3 separate regions of the Homo sapiens genome follow, and all the other regions are linked to region 2. Evidence: promoter capture Hi-C in 16 types of primary human blood cells and fetal thymus (Javierre and others, 2016). All regions are on one chromosome and are shown on one strand. Each heading gives the region's core, a stretch centred on a gene start or on the middle of the fragment in contact. The rest is flanking DNA. Distances are from core to core; before and after follow the strand shown.

Evidence for each region. Contacts are between HindIII fragments. The CHiCAGO score rates a contact against its expected background, and 5 or more counts as called.
Region 1: a contact is called between a fragment that was not itself captured here and the fragment with the promoter of HPS6 in region 2, in 1 of 17 cell types (erythroblasts). The highest score is 5.3, in erythroblasts.
Region 3: a fragment that was not itself captured here is called in contact with the fragment with the promoter of HPS6 in region 2 in 1 of 17 cell types (erythroblasts); the score reaches 5.2 in erythroblasts.

The regions. Positions count from the first base shown.
Region 1 is chr10:101,870,193-101,874,422 of GRCh38, reverse strand. All of the region lies in intron 24 of ARMH3 (armadillo like helical domain containing 3), which reads left to right. All of the region lies in intron 2 of LOC101927445 (a long non-coding RNA gene), which reads right to left. Among named protein-coding and RNA genes, the nearest start is that of KCNIP2, 29 kb to the right of the region's middle. The HindIII fragment of the contact is 5,243 bases long and covers 86-4,230 here.
Region 2 is chr10:102,063,433-102,067,962 of GRCh38, reverse strand. HPS6 (HPS6 biogenesis of lysosomal organelles complex 2 subunit 3) reads right to left here and starts at 2,614. Exons shown (of 1, transcript NM_024747.6): 1 at 1-2,614. The coding sequence starts at 2,488. The coding sequence ends at 161. RefSeq lists a silencer at 2,193-2,862 and an enhancer at 3,073-3,122. The HindIII fragment of the contact is 26,306 bases long and covers 1-4,530 here.
Region 3 is chr10:101,885,693-101,889,771 of GRCh38, reverse strand. It overlaps ARMH3 (armadillo like helical domain containing 3), which reads left to right. Exons shown (of 26, transcript NM_024541.3): 24 at 282-360. Among named protein-coding and RNA genes, the nearest start is that of KCNIP2, 44 kb to the right of the region's middle. The HindIII fragment of the contact is 375 bases long and covers 1,311-1,685 here.

The DNA.
Region 1 (4,230 bases), core at 1,458-3,957, 190 kb after region 2:
CTAGCTTAGAGTTACTGATGTATCAGTCTGAATCATTCTTGTCCCAACCCAAAATGGAATATTAAGACCAAAAATGACACAAGCTTACTGCCCATGGCCATACATTTTTTTTTTGACTAGTCCTGATTTGCTGGACTTTTAAATTTAACTTTATTGAGGTATAATTAACATATAATAAAATATGTTTATGTAACCACCACCACAATCAAGATGTAGAACATTTCCATCACCCAAAAAATGTTCTCTTATACCACTTTGCAGTCAGTCCTCACCCCAAGTCTGGGCCATAGACAACGGCTGATATGATTATTTTCACTGTAGAGTAGATCTGTCTTTTTAAAAATTTTATATAAATAAACTAATGCAATATGTACTCTTTTATGTCTTCTTTCTGAGATTCATATACATCATGACACTCCTTGGGTGTTTACTCAAGAGAAATGAAAATATATATCCACCCAAAGATCTGTACACAGATGTTCATAGCGGTATTATTTAGGATGACCAAAAAGTAGAAACAACCTAAATGTCCATTAGCAGTTGAATGAATAAACAAAGTGTGATTCATTCATACCATGGAATATTATTCAGCCATAAAAAAAGAAGGAGGTACTGATACATGTTACAACATGGATCACTCTCAAAAACATTATGATAAGTGAAAGAAACAGTCACAAAAGACCACATATTGTGTGATTTCTTTTATTTGAAATGCCCAGAAAATCTATAGAGACAGAAAGTAGATTAGTGGTTGCTTGGGCTACAGGTGGGGAGCAGGGTGGGGAGGGACTGCTAATGAGTACGGGATTTCTTTTTGGGTTGATAAAAGTGTTTTAAACTTAGATCATGGTAATAGTTACGTAACTGTGTGAATATACTAAAATCATTGAATTGTACACTTTAAGCGAATGAATTTTATAATATATAAACTATATCTCAATAAATATGTTGAAAGAAAAAAAGAAACTGCCACGCTGGGTTTTTTGTTTGTTTTTGTTTTGTTTTGTTTTTTTGACAGAATCTTGCCCTGTCCCCCAGGCTGGAGTGCAGTGGCGCGATCTCGGCTCACTGCAACCTCTGCCTCCTGGGTTCAAATGATTCTCCTGCCTCAGCCTCCTGAGCAGTTGGGATTACAGGTGCACACTACCACGCCCAGCTAATTTTTTTTTTTTTTTGTATTTTTAGTAGAGACGGGGTTTCACTATGTTGGTCAGGCTGGTCTTGAACTCCTTACCTCATGATCCGCCCACCTCGGCCTCCCAAAGTGCTGGGATTACAGACGTGAGCCACTGTGCCCGGCCTGCCACGCTGTTTTCAAAAGTGGTTCTACCATTTCTCATTCCAATCAACGAACATACGAAAGTTCCAACTACACCATGTCTTTGCCACACTGGGAATTATGAGTCTTTAATTTTAGCCATTGGGTATGTAGTATACTTATTACAGCTTTTTTTTTTTCTTTTTTGGGATGGAGTCTTGCTATGTTACACATGCTGGCGTGCAGTGGCGTGATCTCGGCTCGCTGCAATCTTCACCTCCTGGGTTCAAGCAATTCTCCTGTCTCAGCCTCCCGAGTAGCTGGGATTACAGGCGCCTACCACCCCACCTGGCTAATTTTTGTATTTTTAGTAGAGATGGGGTTTCACCATGTTGGCCAGGCTGGTCTTGAACTCCTGACCTCAGATGATCCACCTGCCTTGGCTACCCAAAATGCTGGGATTACAGGGATGAGCCACCATGCCCAGCCACTTATTACAACTTTTTAATATTATTAGTTTTAATTTGCATGATGACTAGAGCAAGTTCAAGTGATTCTCCTGCTTCAGCCTCCTGAGTTAGCTGGGTCCACAGGTGCGTGCCACCACGTCCAGCTGATTTTTGTATTTTTAGTAGAGACGGGTTTTCACCATATTGGTCAGGCTGGTCTTGAACTCCTCACCTCAAGTGATCCACCCACCTTGGCCTCCCAAAGTGCTGGGATTACAGACATGAGCCACTGTGCCCGGCTAGAGCAGCTTTTTATGTGGCCATTATATATCTTCTTTTGTGAAGTGTCCAGATCATTTACCTATTTTTAAAATTTGGTTGTTCTTCTTTTCTTAAATTGTATTATTTATGAGTTTTTATATATTTTTGATGCAGGTTGTTACACACACACACACACACACACACGTTGTTACACAGACACACACACACACACTCTCTAAATATTTTCTCCAAGTCAGTAGCTTGCCATTTTTCTTTGCATATTCTCAGTGATGTCTTTCAAATACTAGATATTTTTAAGATCAATTTTAACTTAAGTAGATATTCATGAAGATTAATTTACTTTTTAAAGGAGTCATGCTTTTGTGTTTTATTTAATAAATCTCTGCCTACTTCTGGTTGCAAAAATGTTCATTGTACTTTCTTTTTTTCTTTTTTTTTGAGAGTCTTACTCTGTCGCCCAAGCTGGAGTGCAGTGGCACATTCTCGGCTCACTGCAACCTCTGCCTCCGGGTTCAAGCAATTCTCATGCCTCAGCCTCCTGAGCAGCTGGGATTACAAGCGTGCACCACCACACCCAGCTAATTTTTGTATATTTAGTAGAAACAGGGTTTCACCATGTTGACCAGGCTGGTCTTGAACTCCTGGCCTCAAGTGTTCCACCCACCTCGGCCTCCCAAAGTGCTGGGATTACAAGTGTGAGCCACTGTACCCGGCCTCGTTGTATTTTCTTCTGTAAGTTTTGTAATTCTGGCTTTTACATTTAGTTCTGTGATTCATTTCAAATTAACCTTTTTTATGGTGTGTGGTAAATGTTCTTTCCCCCCCGCCAAATATTCAGTTATGTTGCCATTTGTTGAAAAGACTACTCTTTCTCCATTGAGGTACTTAGGCGCATTGTAAAAAAAAATCAATTGAACATGTATGTGCAGTTTATTTCTGGACCGTCAGTTCTGTTCCATTGGTCTATACGTCTAAATTTATGGTCTACCATGTCTTGATTATTGTATGTCTATAATAAATCTTGAAATCAGCTAACCCTCTAATTTTGTTTTTTTTAAATGTTTTTGAATATTCTAGGTCCTTTCCATTTCTGTATAAAATTAGCTTGTTTCTGCAAAAAGACTGGTGAGATTTTGATTAGAATTGCATTAACTCTATAGATGACTTGGAAGAGAATTGATACTTTTAATAATACTGTTTTCATATCCATAATGGAGTAAACATAATATACCTCTCCATTTATTTAGGTCTGTTAAAATTTTTGTCAGTGTTTCGTAGTGTACTTGTTTTATGCCTATTTTGCTCAATTTATCCCTAAATATTTCATTTTTATGTCATGTAAATGGTATTTTAAATTTCAATTTCCAGTCGTTTGTTGCTAGTTTATGGAAATATACTTGTTTTTTAATTGACTTTTTTTTCCTGCATCCTTGATAAACTTATTTATTAGATTTTTGGGTTTTTTGGTTGTTTGTTTGTTGTTTGGGTTTTTTTGAGACAGGGTCTTACTCTGTCATCCAGGCTAGAGTACAGTAGCATGATCACAGCTCACTGCAGCGTCAACCTCGTCGGGCTCAGGTGATCCTCCCACTTCAGCCTCCTGAGTAGCTGGGACTACAGGCTACCAGGCCTCCCAAAGTTCATTGTTTTCTTGTGATGTCTTTGTTTGGTTTGGGTATTAGAGTAATATTGCTCTTAAAAAATGAGTTGGGGAAGTATTCCTTCCTCCCCTGTTTTTAAAAAGAGTTTGTATAGGATTGGTTTTATTTCTTGCTTAATGTTTAGTAGCATAATCAGTGAAGTCATCTGGACCTATAGTTTTCTTTGTGGGAAGAATTTATACCCAATATTTTATTAGGGAAAATTTCAAACATATAGTAAAGTTGGAAAAAATTATATGGTGAATAGCCACATAACCCTCACCTAAATTCTGTTATTTACATTTCACTCTACTTGCTTTATCACATGTATAACCCATAGGATAGATCTCCATCCATCAATCCATCTTTTTTTAATGTGTTTCAAAGTAAAATGCATATATCAGTATACTTCTGTGGAAAACATTTTAATTGTTAGTTGAATTTCTTTAATAGATTTAGGAATAGTCAGTTTACTACTTGTTCTTGAACCAGTTTTAATCATTTGTGTCTTCAAGGAAGTTATTCATTTATGTAGGTTGTTGAATTTATTGGCATAATTCGTTCATAAAATTCTCCCTGTTCCTTGAAATCCCTGTAGGAT
Region 2 (4,530 bases), core at 1,365-3,864:
CAGGTCCATACATGGGACCCTCCAAGTCCCAGGCACCCTTCCCTGATCACTGTGTCCTAGAAATGATTTCCTGTGTCAGTGACACAGAGGAACTGTCCAAGCAAGCCTCCAGTCCCAAGCAAGCCTCCAGGCCCTGAGTGTTCTGATGCCTGAAGGGTAGTCATAGGTCCCGAGGTGGAGTCGGGGGTGGAGTGCTGGGGTCCCATAGGATGTCCTCATATGGGCTTAGAACTGGGCCCGACAGCCATCCTTGAGCCCCAGTCTGCTCCAGCAGGGCTTTGAGCAAGCCCACAGTGAGAGGGGGCTCTGCTCCAGGCTCAGGGAATGGGGTTGGGGGCCCCACCTCATCTGGGAGGTATGTCCTCAGTAGAAGCAGGAGCTCAGCTGGAGCCAGTTCTGGTGGGCACAGGCGGCAAAGGAGGGGGAGGTGAGCATCAAGCCGGCGGTGCTGGGCAAACTCGGCCAGCAGCAGTTTGAAGATTTCACTTCGAAGCAGGGGACTGGAGGGGCCGAGGGCCAGGCCAGCATCCAGAGCCCGATCCCATTGTTCCTTTTGCACCAGCTGCCCGACAGCTTGGAGCACAGCTTTAGGCCGCCCACTGCTCAAGAGCAGCTCTAGCTCCAGAGCCTCAGGCCTGGTCCCCTCCTCACCTAGCACTGCCAGAGCTCGGCGATACAGGGGCAGTCCTGGGCCCCCTGCCCCCCAGCCCGGCCCGCCCTGCTGCTGTGCCAGCTCCACAAAGGGTGGCAGCCATCGAGGCTCCAGCTGGCACAGACACTGGCACAGGAGTTCAAAGGGGGGCAGTATTCCATTGGGGGGTTCCTTTCCAGCGGTTATTCCCCCTAACACTTTCTTCCACACATCAGGGGGTGCTTGGGACCTCAGCTTGCCATTCCCATCTAGCTGGAGCTGCAGGGCCCTGAGGGTGGCACCCCAGGCTGCTGTAGGAAGGGCTTGGAAAACGGTGTTGAGCTGGGCTAGCTGGTCTCCTATCAACTCAGTCCTCAGCAGGCGTGCCACTTCCTGCTCCGCCAGCTCAGTCCAACCAGCCTCCTCATCATCCCCAGCCACCAGCTGGGCCTTCAGCTGTTCTAAGCCTCGGTAATCCCGAAGCTCGGTCCTCAACATGGTCAGCAGTGCAGATGGGGGCAGGTGGCCCTGGAGGATGGAGGCCAGAGCCTGAGGTGCCCGGAATGTGCTGCTGTGTCTCAGTTCTTCTGGAGTGAGCTGGGCACCCCGCAGGCTCCGCCGCTGGTAGTACCCGCAGGCCTCCTCAAACACCAGATCCTTGGCTGAAGGCAACTCAACACCCTGTGGGGCTTCCCAGCCCACACAAAACAGACCCAAGGCTGAAAGCAGACGAAGATTCCCTCGGGTCTCCAGCTCTTCCTCATCCTCCATGCCGGGGGCTGGCGGTTCTAGCAGATGTACCCTGTCTGTACTTAGGACCTTCCTCTCCAGCAGCTGCCCACTGCCCATGTCCAGCAGTTCCAATGTGGAGCCCAGCACACAGGCCAGAGTGCCCTGAAATGTGCCTAGGGCTGCAGACCCCCACGGGCCTACAGGTGCCTCCTGCAGGGTGCCCACAGCCCGCGTACCACCGTGGGACTGCAATAGGCTCACAGTGCCCCCGAAGTCAAGCAACAGCAGGCCCTGGGGAGTTGGGGCCCAGGTGTGTACAGCCAGTGGCTCCCTGGGGGACAGCAACCCAGGAAGGCCTCGGAGCAGGGTCCGGAAGTCCCATGTGTCCCCTCGTCCAGGATTCAGACTCTTACTGTAGGAGAGACCAAGCCGTGGGGCAGCCACCATCACTTTGCCCTTGCCTGGGCTCCAGATGAGTAGAACGTGGGCCACGCCAGGCCAGGTGGTGGCAGTGGGCACCAGGAAGAGTTGTCTGCAGGAGGCCAGCAGCCCGAAGGCAGGGCAGTGGTGCAGCAGGACGTGTGTGCGGCCCAGGCTGGTGCTAGCTTCCCCGCTGGGCTCCAGAGTCCGGACGCACACACAGTGGCTGAAAGCGGCTGCTGGCGACCCTGACGGGCCCTCGGCCCGGGCCTGCCGCTCCTCGCACCACACCAGGCGGCCTCGGAGCGCCGCCACTGCCACAACGCGGGCTCCCCCGCCCGGACACAGCTCGGTGCTCTGCAGCGGCCGCCAGCCAGGCCCCACGCCCGCGCCCCACACCTCGGCCAGGCCACTCTCCCACACCAGCACCAGCGCCGGCCGCGCTGGCCACGGCAGGAAGAAGGCGTCCAGCGGGGAGGGCTGGCCGGCCGGCCAGGCCCGCTCTAGCTCCGCGCCGGGCCCTCGCGACGCGACTAGCAGCTGTGGGGCTACCGCCCCAGGGGGTCGCAGGAGCAGCAAGTGGCGGCCGTCCGGACTGCCACGGACTCGGACCGCTGAGTCCCCGGCCACCAGCTCCCGGAGCCGCGCCGCGCCGCCGAAGGCGCTCAGGTCCGAGAGCAGCCGCAGAGTCCCCGAGCGCTTCATGGCGCCGCTGCGCGGGAGCGCGCCCAGGCTTTGCCCAGGTCCAGCCGCCCAGCAGGGCGAGGCCCGATTCTCGGGGGAGCGGAGCAGGGCCAAGACTTCCGTCTCCCGTGGATGAGGTGAGCAGAGGCCGGGCCGAGCGTCGACTCCGCCCCGCCCGGCCGGCTCCGGGATGCCTCCCGCAGTCGCTGGGCCGACACTACACGCCCGCCGGGGGAGGAGCCACGGGAGCGCCCCAGGGGCTCAGCGCCTGGACCGCGCCCGCCCGGGCACGCTCTCGGCGCAGGGGGAGGCCCTTCCCCAGACCCCAGGACGCCGCCCAGTGGCCCGGAGTCCCACGCAGGAATAGGGATTCCAGCCCCCTGAGCCCCTCTCCCAAGAATTTCACCCCAATTTACTCATTCAGGAAATTTTCGTTGAGCACATGCTTTGTGCCAGGCTCTGAGTAGACAGCCCTAAACAAAATAGAAAACCTCAACCTCATGGAGATGACAATCTAGTGGAAATAGTAAACATGGCTGGGCGCGGTGGCTCACGCCTATAATCTTAGCACTTTGGGAGGCTGAGGTGGGAGGATTGCTTGAGGCCAGGCGTTCGAGACCAGCCTGAGCAACATAGGCAGACCTTGTCTCTATAAAAATTTTAAAAAGACAGAAAGAAAGAAAGAGAGAGAGAGAGAAGGAAGGAAGGAAAGAAAACCACTTCCATATCACTATGTGACAGCCTTCTCTATCCCCTAGTCCCTTTTACAGATAAGGAGGATGAAGCACAGAGAGATTACGTAACTTAACTAAGATCAAGCAGGTATTAAGTGGTGGAGGTGGGATTTCAACCACAGGCACTCTGGCTCCAGAGTCAGTGCAACAAATCACTTTATCATATCAACAACTCATCACCCAAACCAAAACAGAGAAACATAATTTAGAAGCACTGAGCCTGTGTACCGACTCTTCAGTAACACCTACAAATTTGTATGCAGGGGTCCTTCCACCCCTTGACTGCCTTTTCAGGTGAGCAGTTTTCCTCCTCTCTCCAAGGCCAATCCCTCTTTATGAGCCCTGCCTCTCCTCCCCGGCCCCTACCTTCCTTGAGAACTTGCATCCATTTCTGTTTCACTGCCCTCATTCCGTCCTCAGCATAGAAATACCCTGTCATCTCTCCTGTCTTGGAATTCGTTCTTTCATCCTCATCTCCCCACTTCCACCTCCATCACTCCCTCCCCTTTTCCTTTCTCAGTCAATTTTCTTGCAAGGATGCTACATTTGCCACCTCCACTTTCTTTCCTTCTATCCTCAACCCACTACTTCCCTGAAGTAGCTTTTGCTGAGGTCTTCAAGGACATTTTTATTTGACAGCCTTCTCATTGAAAGTCCCTCCTGTGGTTTGCACTGCATCTTTCCTGGCTGGTTTTCCTTTCCTTTTATTTTATTTTATTTTTTTATTTTTATTTTTAGATAGCACTGCCTTCAGAGTTTTATTTGCCTTTGGTTCATCTTCCTCCATCCTTTATTGATTGATTGATTGAGATAGAGTCTCACTCTGTCGCCCACGTTTGAGTGAAGTGGCACCATCTTGGCTCAGTGCAACCTCTGCCTCCTGGGTTCAAGCGATTCTCCTGCCCAGCCTCCCGAGTAGCTGGGATTAGAGGCACCCACCACCACGCCCACCTAATTTTTGTATTTTCAGTAGAGACAGGGTTTCACCTTGCTGGCCGGGATGGTCTTGATCTCTTGACCTCGTGATCCACATGCCTTGGCCTCCCAAAGTGCTGGGATTACAGGCATGAGCCACCGTGCCTGGCCTATTTATTTATTTATTGAGACAGAGTCTTGCTCCGTTGCCCAGGTTGAAGTGCAGTGGCGCAATCTCGGCTCACTGCTATCTCCATGTCCCAGGTTCAAGCGATTCTCCTGCCTAAGCCTCCCTCCCTAGTAGCTGGGATTTCAGAAGTGCACCACCATGCCCAGCTACTTTTTATATTTTTAGTAGAGGTCGGGTTTTGCTATGTTGGTTGGCCAGGCTGGTCTCGAACTCCAGGCCTCAAG
Region 3 (4,079 bases), core at 249-2,748, 180 kb after region 2:
GACTCAATATTTTTGTTTGGCTTTGGGTTTTTTCCGTTAGTTCATTTGCAGAGCAGAGATGCTTGATTCTATTTTCTGTCTAATAGTAAATCCTTCCCACTTCAGAGTTATCAATTCACCCCCATTTGTGACTACCTCATGTTCAATAAGAGGAAGTTACCCAGTCACAATCGGTCCCATGCTCTAGTACTCTAAACCAGAGGGTACTTGATCCTTATTTTTTAACAGATGTATCCACCTCTTCTATCTGGCACCATATTAATACGAATTCTTTGTTTCAGAGCCATCATCAACCACTTTAACCCCAAAATTGAGTCCTACGCTGCTGTGAATCACATATCCCAACTGTCAGAGGAGCAGGTAAGCCACTACTTTCCCCAGATGACCTAGTTGGTGGCTAGGATCAAGCAGTTGCCTTCTCTCTGATGGCAGGGGGATTCTGTGACTGAGCTTTTGTGGTAGTGACCAGGGCCAGGCTGCTGAGAGGAATTAGTGTGGGGTTGGTTGATAGTACTTTTAATACAGAGTGATGCTGTCTGCGTTTGTGCCATCTGAAGGGTTTGTTAATTATATAGAAGATATGTAGGTGAAAATCTGGTGAATTATTTGTTTTAGAGTGTGATAAGGCATTTCTTTTTTTAAAATTTTAGGCAGAGAGTCATTTTGATTTTTGAAAATAAGAAATGAGAACTTAGAAATGGATGAAACTGCCAATTAGAAAAACCCTGAGTTCAGCTTAATTTGAAGCTATTTGGCTCGTTAAAACATGAGCCCTCATTGGGACAGATTTTCCTTAGTAATTGAGTTCTCTTTGCCTTGAGCAATTATTTTTGAGGAGGTTTTTCTGTGGTATGGACTGAGTTAGAGATGCAGATAGCCTTGTGTCTTTGTTTTCTTTAAATCTGGCCTGATTTCCCCTTCTCCCAGAGTGCCTGCACTCAGCTCTGCATTATATAAAAGTACAGATGAGGCGTTAGCGTGGCATGGGATTGAACTTGATGTGTCAAAATGAAACTCTTGAGTCCTTTTTTAAAAAGCACTAAATAAGACATCCTATTCACATGGTTCCCTTTCCTTTTCATCCTACTCCCAAATTGGAGGGGCCAGGGTATAGACCCCAAGCCAGTAGGAAGACCATATGTGCCCTGTTCTTCCTTTTTTGCCAGTGCATCTTTGTAACCCTTGTTTGAGCTTCTTGCTGGCAGAGCCAGCCAGCCAGCTATGATTTGACCATGTGTTTCAGTGTTCCTCAAAGCTATTCAGTTCTCCCAGTGAAGCACCAAGCAAGCCTTTTTCCTAATAGACAAGCTTCTCAGTATTCCCACCAGTGGCTCTTTTCTCAGCCAGATGGATAGGACTCTATTAGTCTGTCAGTTGTTCCCTTTGACATATTTGTTCTCTTTTGTGAGCCCAGCTGTGAGAATCCATCCTCACATTTAAAACTGCTTTTATAAATGGCCTTCATTTCCTTTTTTCCTCTCTGCCTGTGGAGCTATCCTGAATCCTGTTCTTTGATGCTGTGCTGTCTGTGAGGTGCTTTGTGATGCTACCATTTTCTTGTTGGACTAGTTCACATTAATTTTACTATATCATTTTTATGCAAAATAATTCAACATCTTGAGTTTTATGCAGTAAGAGAAGGGGTGACTTTCCTACCACAGTGAGCTCTGGTTAGTCTAAAAGCTTTTTTTTTTTTTTAAAAAAAAAAAAAAGGAGACATTTACTCTGTCAGCCACGTGCAGTATTCATCCCCCAGCAGCTTGGGAAGGTCAAGCTGAAATCTTTCTCCAGCAGTAGCTGCCACAGACCAATAATAAAAATCCTTTCTGGCACACAAGGCAATCTGTGAAAGGATGATTAGCAAGCACGTGTCCTCAGCCTCCTCCAACTTCTTTCAAAGTTAAATGAAATGATGAAAGTGCCTCTCAAAAAGAGTGCGCAGGCCAGAGACGAAGCGATTTCAATGGAGAGGGATTTCATAGGAGAATGGGGAAAGGATAGCAAGATTGATTTACTTGGTCAATATGTAATTGTATACCTGCTGGGTGCGGTGGCTCACACTTGTAATCCCAGCACTTTGGGAGGCTGAGGTGGGCAGATTGCTTGAGCCCAGGAATTCAAGACCACCCTGTACCACATGGTGAAGCTGTCTCTACAAAAAAAAAAAAAAAAAAAAAAAGAGAGAGAGAGAGAAAGAAAAATTAGCCAGACGTGGTGGTGTGCACCTGTAGTCCCAGCAACTTGGGAGGCTGAGGTGGGAGCTGAGGTGAACCCAGGGAGGTTGAAGCTGCAGTAAGCTGTGATCATGCCACTGCACTCCAGCCTGGGTGACAATGAGACCCTGTCTCAAAATAATAGTAATAATAATAATTATCATTATTATTGTATACCTTCTATAATATAAGTTGTGGTGCTAAGGTAAGTGGGGATCAGTGGTGAATAATCTTAGTCATTGCTCTCATGGAGTCTTTGTGTACTCATTACCTCTTTTAATAGTCCTTTTCACTTGGGGGTTTGGAGGAGGGTGATACTATTCTGGGACCTTCTTGAGAGCCACCCTCAAAATAGTTGTTGCTTCTCTTCTCTAACTGATTTTGAAGGGTGCTAAATGACAGCATTACAGTACACTTGGTTTATTCTCAGCACTATCAGATTAGAGGTATTTGACTGCCTTGTTAATCTCCAGCATGTGTTGGAGCACTTCTCTCCCTTCACTTATGAGCATTAATGTGAATGTCACTTAATGTTAACAGTATTCATGGCCTCTCAAAGAGCTAGTTTTATGGATTGCAGTAGGGCCCTGCAGTTGTTAGCAGCAGACTGAGTAGAGAAAAAAGTCAAGAACTTAATCCTCAATAGATTCTAAAGTACCCCTAAAATAAAACCTAAAGAGCATGGATAGATGTTAAATGGAATTTGTTACATTTAGTAAGTTAGCAGAGAAGACAGGGCACTTTCCTATGTCTGCCTGCCCAGCCTGCCATTTTTTTCTGGCAAAGAGATTTGTGAATTCTTGAATTCTGACAACCCCTAGACACATTCCAGCCTCTGTTTGAGGCATTTCAAGGTGGTACTTGTAAATCCATTATTGCATATTAAACAAAGCCCAGCCTTTCACACTGGGGTTTCTTTTCAGACATCCAGAAGGTAAATGACATTTTTTTGTTAATTGTCATTGGCTTCATCATTCGTGATAAAGTTTTTAATCAGTTGATACCCTCAATGTGACTGAAGGATCATTCTTTTTTGTTTGTTTGTTTTTGAGACAGAGTCTCACTCTGTCACCCAGGCTGGAGTACAGTGGCACGATCTTGGCTCACTGCAGCCTCTGTCCCCTGGGTTCAAGCGATTCTCCTGCCTCAGCCTCCCAGGTAGCTGGGATTAGAGGTGCATGCCACCATGCCTGGCTGATTTTTGTTTTTTTTAAGTAGGGTTTCGCCATGTTTGCCAGGTTGGTCTTGAACTCCTGACCTCAAATGAGCCACCTGCTTTAGCCTCCCAAAGTGCTGGCATTACAGGCATGAGCCACTGCACCCAGCCTGGTCATACATTTTTTTAATGTAATAAACTGTATGTATTTTTATGGTATATATGCAGGTGCTATATTTGTCTGGGGTTAATTGTGAAGCTTGTTCATTTTTACCTCTTTTTTTTTTATATGTGGTAGAATATACATAACATAAAATTTACCATTTTAACCCCCTTTTTTTTTTTGAGATGGAGTCTTGCCCTTGTTGCCCAGGCTGGAGTGCAATGGCGCGATCTTGGCTCACCGCAACCTCTGCTTCTCGGGTTCAATCAATTCTCCTGCGTCAGCCTCCCTAGTAGCTGGGATTACAGGCACCCACCACCACGCTCAGCTAATTTTTTGTATTTTTTAGTAAAGATGGGGTTTCACCATGTTGGCCAGCCTGGTCTCAAAACTCCTGACCTCAGGTGATCCACCCGCCTCGGGCTCCCAAAGTGCTGGGATTACAGGCGTGAGCCACTGTGCCCAGCCCATTTTAACCCTTTTTAAGTGTACAGTTCAGTGGCATTAAATACATTCACATTGTTGTGCAACCATCTCTGCTCTCCTT